3 separate regions of the Homo sapiens genome follow, and regions 2 and 3 are each linked to region 1. Evidence: promoter capture Hi-C in human tissues and cell types (Jung and others, 2019). All regions are on one chromosome and are shown on one strand. The core of a region is centred on a gene start or on the middle of the fragment in contact, and the rest is flanking DNA. Distances in the headings are between cores, read along the strand shown. Region 1 holds the start of FABP3 (fatty acid binding protein 3). Region 2 has its middle 13 kb from the start of HCRTR1. Region 3 overlaps NKAIN1 (sodium/potassium transporting ATPase interacting 1).

The links. The method cuts DNA at HindIII sites, captures the fragments that hold promoters and counts their contacts. A contact is called where the count stands out against the background at its distance.
Region 2: a contact is called between a fragment that was not itself captured here and the fragment with the promoter of FABP3 in region 1, in 1 of the 25 tissues and cell types used here (IMR-90 fibroblasts).
Region 3: a fragment that was not itself captured here is called in contact with the fragment with the promoter of FABP3 in region 1 in 2 of the 25 tissues and cell types used here (H1 embryonic stem cells and thymus).

The regions. Positions count from the first base shown.
Region 1 is chr1:31,371,355-31,374,986 of GRCh38, forward strand. FABP3 (fatty acid binding protein 3) reads right to left here and starts at 1,722. Exons shown (of 4, transcript NM_004102.5): 1 at 1,588-1,722. The coding sequence starts at 1,660. LOC124903892 (a long non-coding RNA gene) reads left to right here and starts at 2,945. Exons shown (of 2, transcript XR_007065573.1): 1 at 2,945-3,033. RefSeq lists a silencer at 1,908-2,202. The HindIII fragment of the contact is 11,361 bases long and covers 1-3,632 here.
Region 2 is chr1:31,602,767-31,606,398 of GRCh38, forward strand. No RefSeq gene overlaps it. Among named protein-coding and RNA genes, the nearest start is that of HCRTR1, 13 kb to the right of the region's middle. RefSeq lists an enhancer at 2,493-3,632. The HindIII fragment of the contact is 3,458 bases long and covers 133-3,590 here.
Region 3 is chr1:31,198,523-31,202,154 of GRCh38, forward strand. All of the region lies in intron 1 of NKAIN1 (sodium/potassium transporting ATPase interacting 1), which reads right to left. Among named protein-coding and RNA genes, the nearest start is that of NKAIN1, 40 kb to the right of the region's middle. RefSeq lists an enhancer at 1-472. The HindIII fragment of the contact is 6,249 bases long and covers 1-3,632 here.

The sequences.
Region 1 (3,632 bases), core at 472-2,971:
TGTTTGAAAAGGAAACCACTGCGGGATGAGTGAGGGTCTGAACCAAGAGAAACTAAGAATATTGAGCTGACAGAATTTAGGAGACTCAGGGAGATCTGGGTTCTACTTAGAAATGAAGCCAGCACTACTTACTGAGAGCTGAGGAGGGTATTTTCCCAGGCTTTCCATTCCTACGATGAGAATGCTGGCTGCCTTAACATAAGCTGCTGAAAGATAACAGGACTTCAGGGAGACCAGCCCGCTGACCCAACTCGGGGCAGAATAAGGGAACAAGAATGGTAAAGTTGTTGCAGCTCAATTCAAGACTCAGCTCTGGCCCAGCTTTGGAAGGAGGAACTAAATCTGGGCATTCCAACTTCCCAATAGCTGCTGGGCTGTGTTCGTGGGGGCTGGGGGCTGCTCCTCTAAGAATGACTGCCTGCCTAGAATTACTGGGCATAGCGCCCAAGATAGGGTAGAGGCCGTTGAGAGCTTTGACCTCTCCATCTAAGCCCAAAGCAGTAGAAGAAGGGCTGAGGTCAATCATTAGCTAAGCAGTTTCTACTTTTCTTCCCACTCGCAGGGCCTGTAGGGTAGTGGGAAGAGCTCTGGGTTACAGATCTAGAAACCTTAGATTTTCATATTGGCTCTGCTGTGGAATTGTTATAATACATTTCTACTCTCCTGGTTTCAGTTTCCCTGTTGAACTAGATGGTATGGGAATCTCCAAGTTCCTCACCTGTGAGATTCTTTGAATCCTGATTCTTCTCCATCCCAACACCACAGCAGTTCTCCACATCCTCCTAAACCAGTGATCCTCCCTCCCAGGTCTTGACCTTGCCTTGGGACCCTCTACTGCACATCAGAAGTCCAATGGCTTTCTCTGCCTACCCCTCGCACAGATAGGTGAGCCTTGGGTTGCAGGAAAGGCCCAGCTGATCATGGGCCTCTTGCCCCACCCTACCACGAGGCTCACAGACAGTGATGAAGGCCTGGATACATAGACTGCAGGACAAGGTCAGACTGGCTGGTGAGAAAGGGCATTCTCCAGCAAGAATTCTCTTCCCTAACCAAGCAGAGATGGGGATTGCTGCTTACTGCAGGTTCCTGTCTTACGTCCTTCTCATATCTGATTCACTGATCCACAGTTTTTTCCCCACTAATCTTTTTCCTCCTAGGTATTTCCTACTTGTTTACATCATTGTACACTCCCTGGCTGCCCCATTCCCTTTCTGGGTTCAGTCTCCTCCAATTTCTAAACTACCCATGCCCCTGTTCTTTTTCTCCCCTGGCTACACTCCCTTTCCTGTGATCAGTGTTCTTTATCCAAACCCTCCTCCTACCTCCAAATCACATATCCCTCTTCCTGGAAAGAGCCTCCCACACAGCTGCCTCCTTCCACCACCTCCCTACCGTGGTCTCTAACCAGATTTGGACCACCAAAGCCCCCTCTGAACAGGCCCCACCTGCTCTAGGCCAGGCTGCCATCTCCGCGCTCCCCTATTCCCCAGTCTTAACCAGGAGGGATGCGGCAGGAGTGCTGCGTGGGGCTAGGCACGCCACCAGCCAGTCCCCAAGCCAACATCCTGAGCCCCGCGGCTTGCTCACCGAGTGACTTCATGTAGTCATCGAAATTCTTGCTGTCCACTAGCTTCCAGGTGCCCAGGAAAGCGTCCACCATAGTGATGCTGGGCTAGGCTGAGAGAAGCTACAAGAGAGCAGGCGTGCAAGGGCTCCGACGGCGGCTCCCTGCCCGGGCTGCCGCTTTAAATAGCCCTCGCATCACATGAGGAGACGTGGCCCACGCCCCCGGCTCCCGAAATAGGAAGCCCCAGGCTAGGGCTCACCCAGGAGGGGCTGGTGCGCCCATCCCCCAACCCACCGAGGTGGGTGGGGACCAGCCAGTGGCGCCCTGCTAGCCTGCGTCAGCGCCAGTGCCTGGCCCCCGAGTCCCTACCCCAGGCTGGTAGGACCTTCTCCCTTTCCTGGCCTCTAGGCACTCTGGAATCTGAGAAGGAAGCAGCCAACACCAGCCCGAGAGCTAGGGCGCATGCCATGGTGGATATCTTCCCGTCCCCCAGTCCCTCTTTGAGCTTAGCGTCAGAGCAGAGATGAGACTAGAAAAGCAAAACGCCCTTGGGCTGGTGCCCACGCCGGGGAAAGCTCTGGTTGACTTCTGGCACGGGCATCTGTCCTCGTTTTACAAGTGAGGAGTCCGAGGCTCACAGGGGAACTGACAAGGTCTCAAGAAATAGGAGGGGGTGAATGGAGCTCAGATTGCAAGCTTAGTCTAGCGGGCTTCAGAGCTCGCGCTCTCCCTTCACTCTCACTGCCTGGTGGCGGAGACAGTCACCAGCGGCTCGGTCTGCGGCTGAGCTGACCTTGTCCTCTGCCTGTTTTGAGCAAAAGCCTGACCCTTCGCGCCCCGCCCGCCTCACACGTGCTTGCCCCTCCCTGCGGAATGTCTCCTGCTGGCCCTCCTCCGTCCCCACCCCACCCCACCATCTAGCTCCCCACCCGCCCCTGCAAGTGCTCTGGGCTTTTCCGGTTTCTTCGCACAGCTCCGAGCTTTAGCTCAGGTCGTTCCCAGCTCCCCTCCTGCAGAAATTCTGCCAATTCGGTCAGCTCTTCAAGGCCCATGGCTGCCTTCCCCACCTGCCGCCCTTTCTTTGGCCTGTGCACACTAGCAAGCCGCCTGCACTTTTGGGTAATTTGCTGCCTCCTTTCGAGAGCCTGTTGTGCGGTGGTTTGTCACTGTATAGTTTACTAAGCACTTTCAGTAAAAATAAGACCTGCCTTGTCTTGCTATTTATTGCATGCTGAGGGCTTTGGGTGTATTGTTTCATTGAACTTTTTATTTTATTATTATTTTTTAGAGACAAAGTCTCTCGCTGTGTCTCCCAGGCTGGAGTACTGTGACGCCATCATAGCTCACTGCAGCCTCAAACTCCGGGGCTCAGGGGATCCTCCTACCTTAGCCTCCCCAGCAGCTGGGACTATAGGCACACGCCACCACACCTGGCCTCATTGGACTTTTAAAGCAAAATCCATGAAGTAGGTGTTACTGTATTATTTTCTCTTTTTAAAAAGGTGAACAAGTTGAAGCTCTGAGGAGCTCACTCATTAATTCAGCAGTTAATAAAGCACCTACTTTGTGCCAGGCCCTGCTTTGGAGAGAGACAACAGGGAACAAGACACACATTCACCTCTGGGCAGCCAGACATAAAACTAGCGTGGTGCCTCTAAAGGGAGTCCTGTCCTGTCCTGACCTGAGGGCCCAATGTAGACTTCTCAAAGGAAGTGAGGTATAAATGAATTTCTGAGGGATGGCAGGAGGCCCTGCACACCAAGGAGTAGTGCCGAACTGAATTTCAGCCAGCAGCAGCCTGTCCAGGGTGGGCCTGCAGGAGCCAACACAGGAGCCCAGAGGCCTGCCACGTGCGTAGAGTATGGCAGGCCCTCCTTCCTGGGACTCTGTTTCTCCATGTGCAAACCCTGCCTCCCTTCCCTGGACTGTTCTGAGAACAAGGCCAGGGAGGAAGAGCCCTCTCCCCACCCTAAGATCTTGATTCCTTTGGACGGTCCAGTTGCCAGAAGACTCAGAGGCTCATTTCTGCCAAAGCTATAGGGACAGGCTTCAGGGCTGGGCATGG
Region 2 (3,632 bases), core at 612-3,111, 230 kb after region 1:
GGAAATTTGCTTAGTAACATGTTAGATCCTATTATTTTTTCCCCTGTATCACATTCTTTTCTATTTTCCATCACCTTGTCTCTCTCTATTGAATTCTGGTTAATTTCTTCATATCTGTCTTTCAGCTTTCTCTTCAGCTATATCTAACCTACTGTGCTTTTCAAATATGTATATATATATATACATATATATATATATATATTTTTTTTTTTTTTAGGTGGACTCCCTCTTTCACCCAGGCTGGAGTGCAGTGGCATGATCTCGGCTCATCACAACCTCTGCCTCCCAGGTTCAAGTGATTATCTGCCTTAGCCTCCCGAGTAGCTGGGATTACAGATGCCTGCTACCATGCCCAGCTAGTTTTTGTACTTTTAGTAGAGACTGGGTTTCACCATGTTGGCCAGGCTGATCTCAAACTCCTGACCTCAAGTGATCCACCCATCTCGGCCTCCCAAAGTGCTGGGATTACAGGCACGAGCCACCGTGCCCGGCCTCAAATTTTTTTAATTGTGAAATACAGCACAATATGGAAAGGCATATCAAATACAATTGCACAGCTTAAATAACAATTATAAAGCAAACATCTACATAATCCCCCAGGTCATAAAGTAGAAGATGATAGGCACTCCTAAAAGCTCCCTGTGTATATCCCATCACAATCCCTTACTTTCTCTCTTAAAGGAAACCATTACCCTGACCTTATGGTAATCATTGTCTTGCTTACTTTTTATGGCTTTGTCCTCTGTGCATGCCTAAAGATGTGTTTTAACCTGTTTTTGGATTTTATATAAATGGAATCTTACAGTGTGTATTATTTTTGTCATGCTTTCTTACTCTACATTGCATTTTTTAAGATTTATTCTTTTTGTTATGAATAAATATCATATGTTTATTTTCACCACTGTATACTATTCCATTATATGAATATAACACAACTTACTCATACATAGTTTTGTTGATAAATATCTGATTGTTTCCAGCTTGTGGCTATTATAATGTTGTTTCTCACCTGATACTCAGCCCAGACACCAGGTTTTCTTTCTTTTCTTTAATTTCAGTATCTCATTTTCCTTTCTATTGTCTCTATTTAGTTGTTTTTTTCCACATCTACCTCATCACTTTTTTTTTTTTTTTTTTTGAGACAGTGTCTCCCTCTGTTGCCCAGGCTGGAGTGCAGTGGCATGCATGATCATGGCTCACTGCAGCCTCTACCGCCTAGGCTCAAGCAATTCTCCCACCTCAGCCTCCTGAGTAGCTGGGACCACAGATGTGTGCCACCATGACCGACTAATTTTTTTTTATTATTATTTGTAGAGACTAGGTCTCGCTATGTTGCCCAGGCTGATCTCAAACTCCTGGGCTCAAGCAATCCTCCTGCCTTGGCCTCCCAAAGTACTGGGATTACAGGTGTGAGCCACTGTGCCCGCCCTGCCTGATCATTTTTTAGAGTATCTTTTTGCTTGCTCATTTTCGTAATTTGATGTTATATTTACTAAAATATTTTATTCACAATTATGGTGTTTTATATTCCATGTTTGATAAATCCAATATCGGAAGTCTTTGGGGTCTAAGTTTATTATTTATGGTTTCTAGCTGGCTCTCAGTCATGGTGACTTGATTCCTTGGGAGTTTTGTTAACAGTGTGATACAGGTATATACTTCTCTTTCTTCCACACGGAAAACCAGTTTTCCCACCACCAGGTATTGGAGGGAATTGATTTAAATGCCACCTCTGACATAGGTTGAACTTCCAGTCTGCATAGCTCTGTTTCTGAGCTTTCAGCTCTATCTCATCCAGTTATTTGTACATCCCTCTACCAATACCTCCCTGCCTTAATGACTTTGGTTGTATACATCTTGTTATGTGGAGGGTGATTCTCCTCGTTTTGTTAATTTTCTTCAAAATTACCTTGGCTACTCTTAACTATTTGTTCTTTCATATGACCTTAGGATAAGCTTGACATGTTTCCCAAGATATTAATTTTAAAAAACTCTTCTTTGAACCTCTTATTGAAAGTAAAATAAATTTATAGGTTAATTTAAAAATAACATCTTTACAATTAAGTGTTTTCTTCTATGAGCAAGTTATACTTCTCCATTTATCTGGGTCTCTTGAATGACCATCAAGAAAGTTTTAGGCCAGGCATGGTGGTTCATGCCTGTAATCCCAGCACTTTGGGAGGCTGAGGTGGATGGATTGCTTGAAGTCAGGAGTTCGAGACCAGCCAGGCCAACATGGTGAAACCCCGTCTCTACTAAAAATACAAAAATTAGCTGGGCATGGTGGCAGGCTCCTGTAGTCCCTGCTACTCAGGAGGCTGAGGCAAGGGAATCTGTTGAACCCTTGAGGCGGAGGTTGCAGTGAGCCGAGATCGTGTCACTGCACTCCAGCCTGGGCAACAGAGCAAGACTCCATCTCAAAAAAAAGAAAAAGAAAGTATAATTTTCTCCATAAAAATATTGCTTATCTCTTAGGTTTATTCCAAGATATCCCATAGTTTTTTTTAATGCTTTTATAAATGGTGTCTTTTATAAATAGCATTTTATGTTTGTTGCTTAACAGCTGGGATGTGTTCCGAGAGAGGATTTTATTGTTGTGTGAACATCACAGAGTGTACTTACCCACACTTAGATGAGATAGCCTACTACAAGTACACCTAGACTACGTGGTACAGCCTGTTGCTCCTAGGATACAAACCTGTACAGCATGTTATTATACTGTTACTGTAGGCAATGCAATGGTGAGTAGCTGTGTATCGAAAAATATTTAAACATAGAGAGGTTACAATAAAAATATATTATGAAAGATTTTTAAATGGTACATCTGTATAGGGCACTTACTATGAGTGAAGCTTGCAGAACTGGAAGTTGCTTGAGTGTCAGTGAGTGGTGAGTGAACGCGAAGGCCTAGCACATTACTATACACTACTGTAGACTTTATAAACTGTACACTCAGGCTACACTAAATATGTTTTTAAAATTTTCTTTAAAAATAAATTAACCTTCGCTTCAGTAACTTTTTTACTTTATTAAAACTTTTTGATTCTTAAAAACTTTTTGCCAGGCGTGTTGGCTCATGCCTGTAATCCCAACATTTTGGGAGGCAGAGGTGGGAGGAGGCCAGCCCAGATCCTTAGCTGTCACAGTATTGTGGATGCTGGCAGAAGACTTGAGAGTCTTGGGTCAGAGACAAAGGACTTTATTACTCACAGCCCAGGAAGTAGCATCAGTTTCATGTCTGAGTCAATAGTTTCACTTGCCCCCCAAGTCCCACAGTGATGTTGAGGGCAGTGGGGGTGGTATAGACAGATGACGCACATTCAATGAGTTTGCATAATAGCAGAGGAACCCTGAGTTTAGGGAACTGAAATCCCTGATCTCTGCTACTGTAAAAGTTATCAGAATCAAAATGGAGTCACTTCTGTTAAAAGTGACAAATAGAGCTGGAGAAGGTCATGAAGAGACAGCTCTCACGCACAAGTTGCCCAATCACAAGAACTATCCCAATTAGCCAGGCGTGGTGGTGCATGCCTGTAGTTCTAGATACCTGGGAGGCTGACGCAAAAGGATCACTTGAGCTTGGGAGGCAGAGGTTGCAGTGAGCTGTGATGAAGCCACTGCACTCCAGCCTG
Region 3 (3,632 bases), core at 353-2,852, 170 kb before region 1:
AGCCCATCCTCAAGCCCTGGCTCTCTGGGATCTTCCAAATCTCTCATATCTGGCCACTTTTTTCCGTCCACTTTCTTTCACCTAGCAATGCCAACCCCCCTGCCCTCCACCCTACTTCAAACCTAACTGGCCCTTCTGCTCTCCAGAGTGGGGCCTCCCTGAGGCTCCCTGCTGCCCTTCCCCCTGCCCTTCGCTCCCCGCCCCCACCCCTAATTATTTATTTATCAGGTAGCTGCCAGCTGAAGGGGGATGCCGTTGCCATAGGAACCTTCAGCCCCGAGTCAGGGCTGCCTCTGTTCTCAGTAGGATGCTCTTGTCTGTCTAGACGCCAACCCCAGGAGCCCACACAAGGTGGGGAGTGAGGGACAAGGGCTGAATAATGCAGATGGGCCCACCCTAGCTCCAGGAAGCTGGCTGGGAGAGAAGGTAGCGTAGGGCCCAGGCTCAGGGCCATTGAACCCATCAGAAGTCTCTCGTGCCCCACCCTTGCCAGCCAATTTGGCAAGTCAACTACTTTCCTGGCCAAAATTCCAGCCATGTCACCATAGGCCTTAGACACAGAAGTCAGCCTGTCTGGGGAAAGATGAGGGATGGACCCTTGAAGTTTCTGGAGAAAGCTTTGGTCCAGCCTGGTTCTGTCTCTCTCACTGACTTCAGTCCACTGAGGGACGAGCTCTCCATTTAAGGACAGGGAGGCCTGAGTTCCAGCCCCAGTTCTCATCGACTCACTGTGTGACCTTCGGCAAGTTATCCCCCTCTCTGAGCCTCAGTTTTCTCATTAGTGAAATGTCCTGAGGATTCAGACAGTGCCCATAAAGCTCGCAGCCAGCCGGATGTCTGGCACGCAGTTGGTGCTGACTATATGGCAACAGCTTTTGTTGCATCCCCAACCTCAGACCCCCCTTTTCCCAATGGATTTCTGAGGCAGCTGACAAAATTAAACTCGACTCAACCCCTCATCTGTGAAATGAGGGAGTGGGATGAAAGCCGCAGACAACAGAGCTGGAAGGACCCCTGAGATCTGCTGGCCCAACCCCCTCATTAGGGAGGTGAGCAAACTGACAGCAGAGGGGGCAGTGATGTGCCTGAGGGGAGGTGCTCCTCCCTCTCCCCATCTCCGGGGGTCCATCTGGGGTCATTGCCATCTGAGCATGAGTTGAAATGAGATTTAACTCAACATAAGATTAAAAGGAACAGTCACAGAGACCAAGTGGTCTTTGACCCTGCCAAAGAAGATGGGCCCAGTAAGGACTCAATTCATTGAGCAAATATTTCTTGAGCACCTACAATGTGCCGGGCCCTGGACATATGGCAGTGAACAACATGGCGTGTATCCTGCCTCAGAGAGCTCGTCTGGAGACAGAGACCACTGTCCTCTGGGAGCTGATGAGCTGATGATGGGGGCTTCTCTGCCAGGTTCCCCTCCACTGTGCCTAGGGACCTGTGAAGATGCCTCCCTGGTCCCCGAACACACACACACGCACACACATGCACACACACACGCACACACACACACATGCACACGTGCACACACGCACGCGCACGCACGAACACATGCGCGCACACGCATTCACACACACGCACGCACGCACACCCCTCTCTCCTGTCTTTCTTCCAGGGCTTTTGCAGCCTTGCTGCCTCTCTATCCCAGCCCGGATCCCACTGGGAAATGGCCACGGCCATCACTGTTAGGTGAAAAAAGCAAGCTGCAGAGCAACATGATTCCGTTCGTGTAAACACCTCCCCTAAAAGGCACCAAACGCGTGCGACTGTAAACACAGGACCAAAAGCCAGGGAGTTATCTCATAACAATAAACAGTTATGAGATGTTATTTCTAGGGAGTGGGGAGATGGGGAGACTTTGAATCTTAACTATATGCACTTCTATAGTTCCGGAATGTCTTACAACAAAGTTGGACCAGAAGTCTCCTCTCTCTTTTTTTTTTTTTTTTTTTGAGACAGGGTCTTGCTGTTGTTCATGCTGGAGTGCAGTGGCATGATCCGGGCTCACTGCAGCCTCAGCCTCCTGGGATCAAGTGATCTTCCCACCTCAGCCTCCTGAGTAGTTGGGACTACAGGCAGCTGCCACCCACACTTGGCTATTTTTTAAACTTTTTTGTAGAGACAAGGGTCTCACTATATTTCCCAGGCTGGTCTCGAACTCCTGAGCTCAAGTGATCCTCCCCTGCCTTGGCCTCTCAAGGTGTTGGGATTACAGGTGTGAGCCACTGTGCCCGGCCACATTTATTTATCTCCTATTTGATCTAGACAGTATTCTGAGTACATAACATGTATTCGTCTTATAAACATTTCTCGAGTGCCTTTTTTTTTTTGACAGTCTCGCTCTGTCGCCCAGGCTGGAGCGCAGTGGTGCGATCTCAGCTCACTGCAACCTCCGCCTCCCTGGTTCAAGCAATTCTCTGCCTCAGCCTCCTGAGTAGCTGGGATTACAGGTGACTGCCACCATGCCTGGCTAATTTTTGTATTTTTAGTAGAGACAGGGTTTTGCCATCTTGGTCAGGCTCACGCTCCCAGCAATTTGGGAGGCGAAGGCGGGTGGATCACGAGGTCAGGAGTTCGAGTGCCTCTTGTGTGCTAAATCCCGAGAACACAGTGGTGAATACAGTGCACCCAGCTCCTGTCCTCTTGGGGATGACAGTCTTGCCCTTTCCCTCCTCAGAGCAGACACCAGTAACATCTGTCCCATTAGGAAACAAAACAAACCAAATCTCCCAGAAGATCAGTAACCTCTCTCAAGGGGTCTACCTTAGGATACTTTATGGAGCACTCATTGTCTATAAACCTCATGCTCATGTCACACCTTTTAATCCTACCCTATTTTTTTTTTTTTTTTGAGACGGAGTCTCTCTCTGTCGCCGAGGCTGGAGTGCAGTGGCACTATCTCAGCTCACTGCAAGCTCTGCTTTCCGGGTTCACGCCATCCTCCTGCCTCAGCCTCCCAAGTAGCTGGGACTACAGGTGCCCGCCACCATGCCCGGCTAATTTTTTTTTGTATTTTTAATAGAGACAGGGTTTCACCGTGTTAGCCAGGATGGTCTCGATCTCCTGACCTCGTGATCCTCCCTCCTGGGCCTCCCAAAGTGCAGGGATTACAGGCGTGAGCCACCGCGCCCGGCCAATCCTACCCCTTTTTATAAATGAGGAAACTGAGGCCCAGAGCAGTGGCAGGCTTGCCTAAGGGGACGCAGAACGGCTGACTCCAACCAGTCTGGGGCCAAACCCTTGCTCTTTTCCACCACTTCTTACCAAGGTGCTCTTTGAGATTTGGCCGCCCAGCCTGTTTGCATGCCCCAGCATTTGGGAGTCTCACCCCTTATGGCACTGCTGGAGGTGCCTTCCACCCTGGAGGGGTAATCTTCCTCCTCCTCGGGACAGGTCCTGGACCCCCAATCCCCTGACTGCCATCTGCCTGTCTGCACGCCCTCCTGCTGCGGCCCAGCCCTCTACCTCCGCTGGGCCTGGGGAGCCAGGGAGCATCTGCTCACCTTCTGCATCATTAGCCCTCAGAGACCAGCTTGGAGCTGCTAGGGAGGCCCAGGATGCGACTGATTGGGCCAGCCCTGGTCTTGTCAGGAGGCAGCAGCAGGCTCCTGGCCTCTGTCTCCATGGTA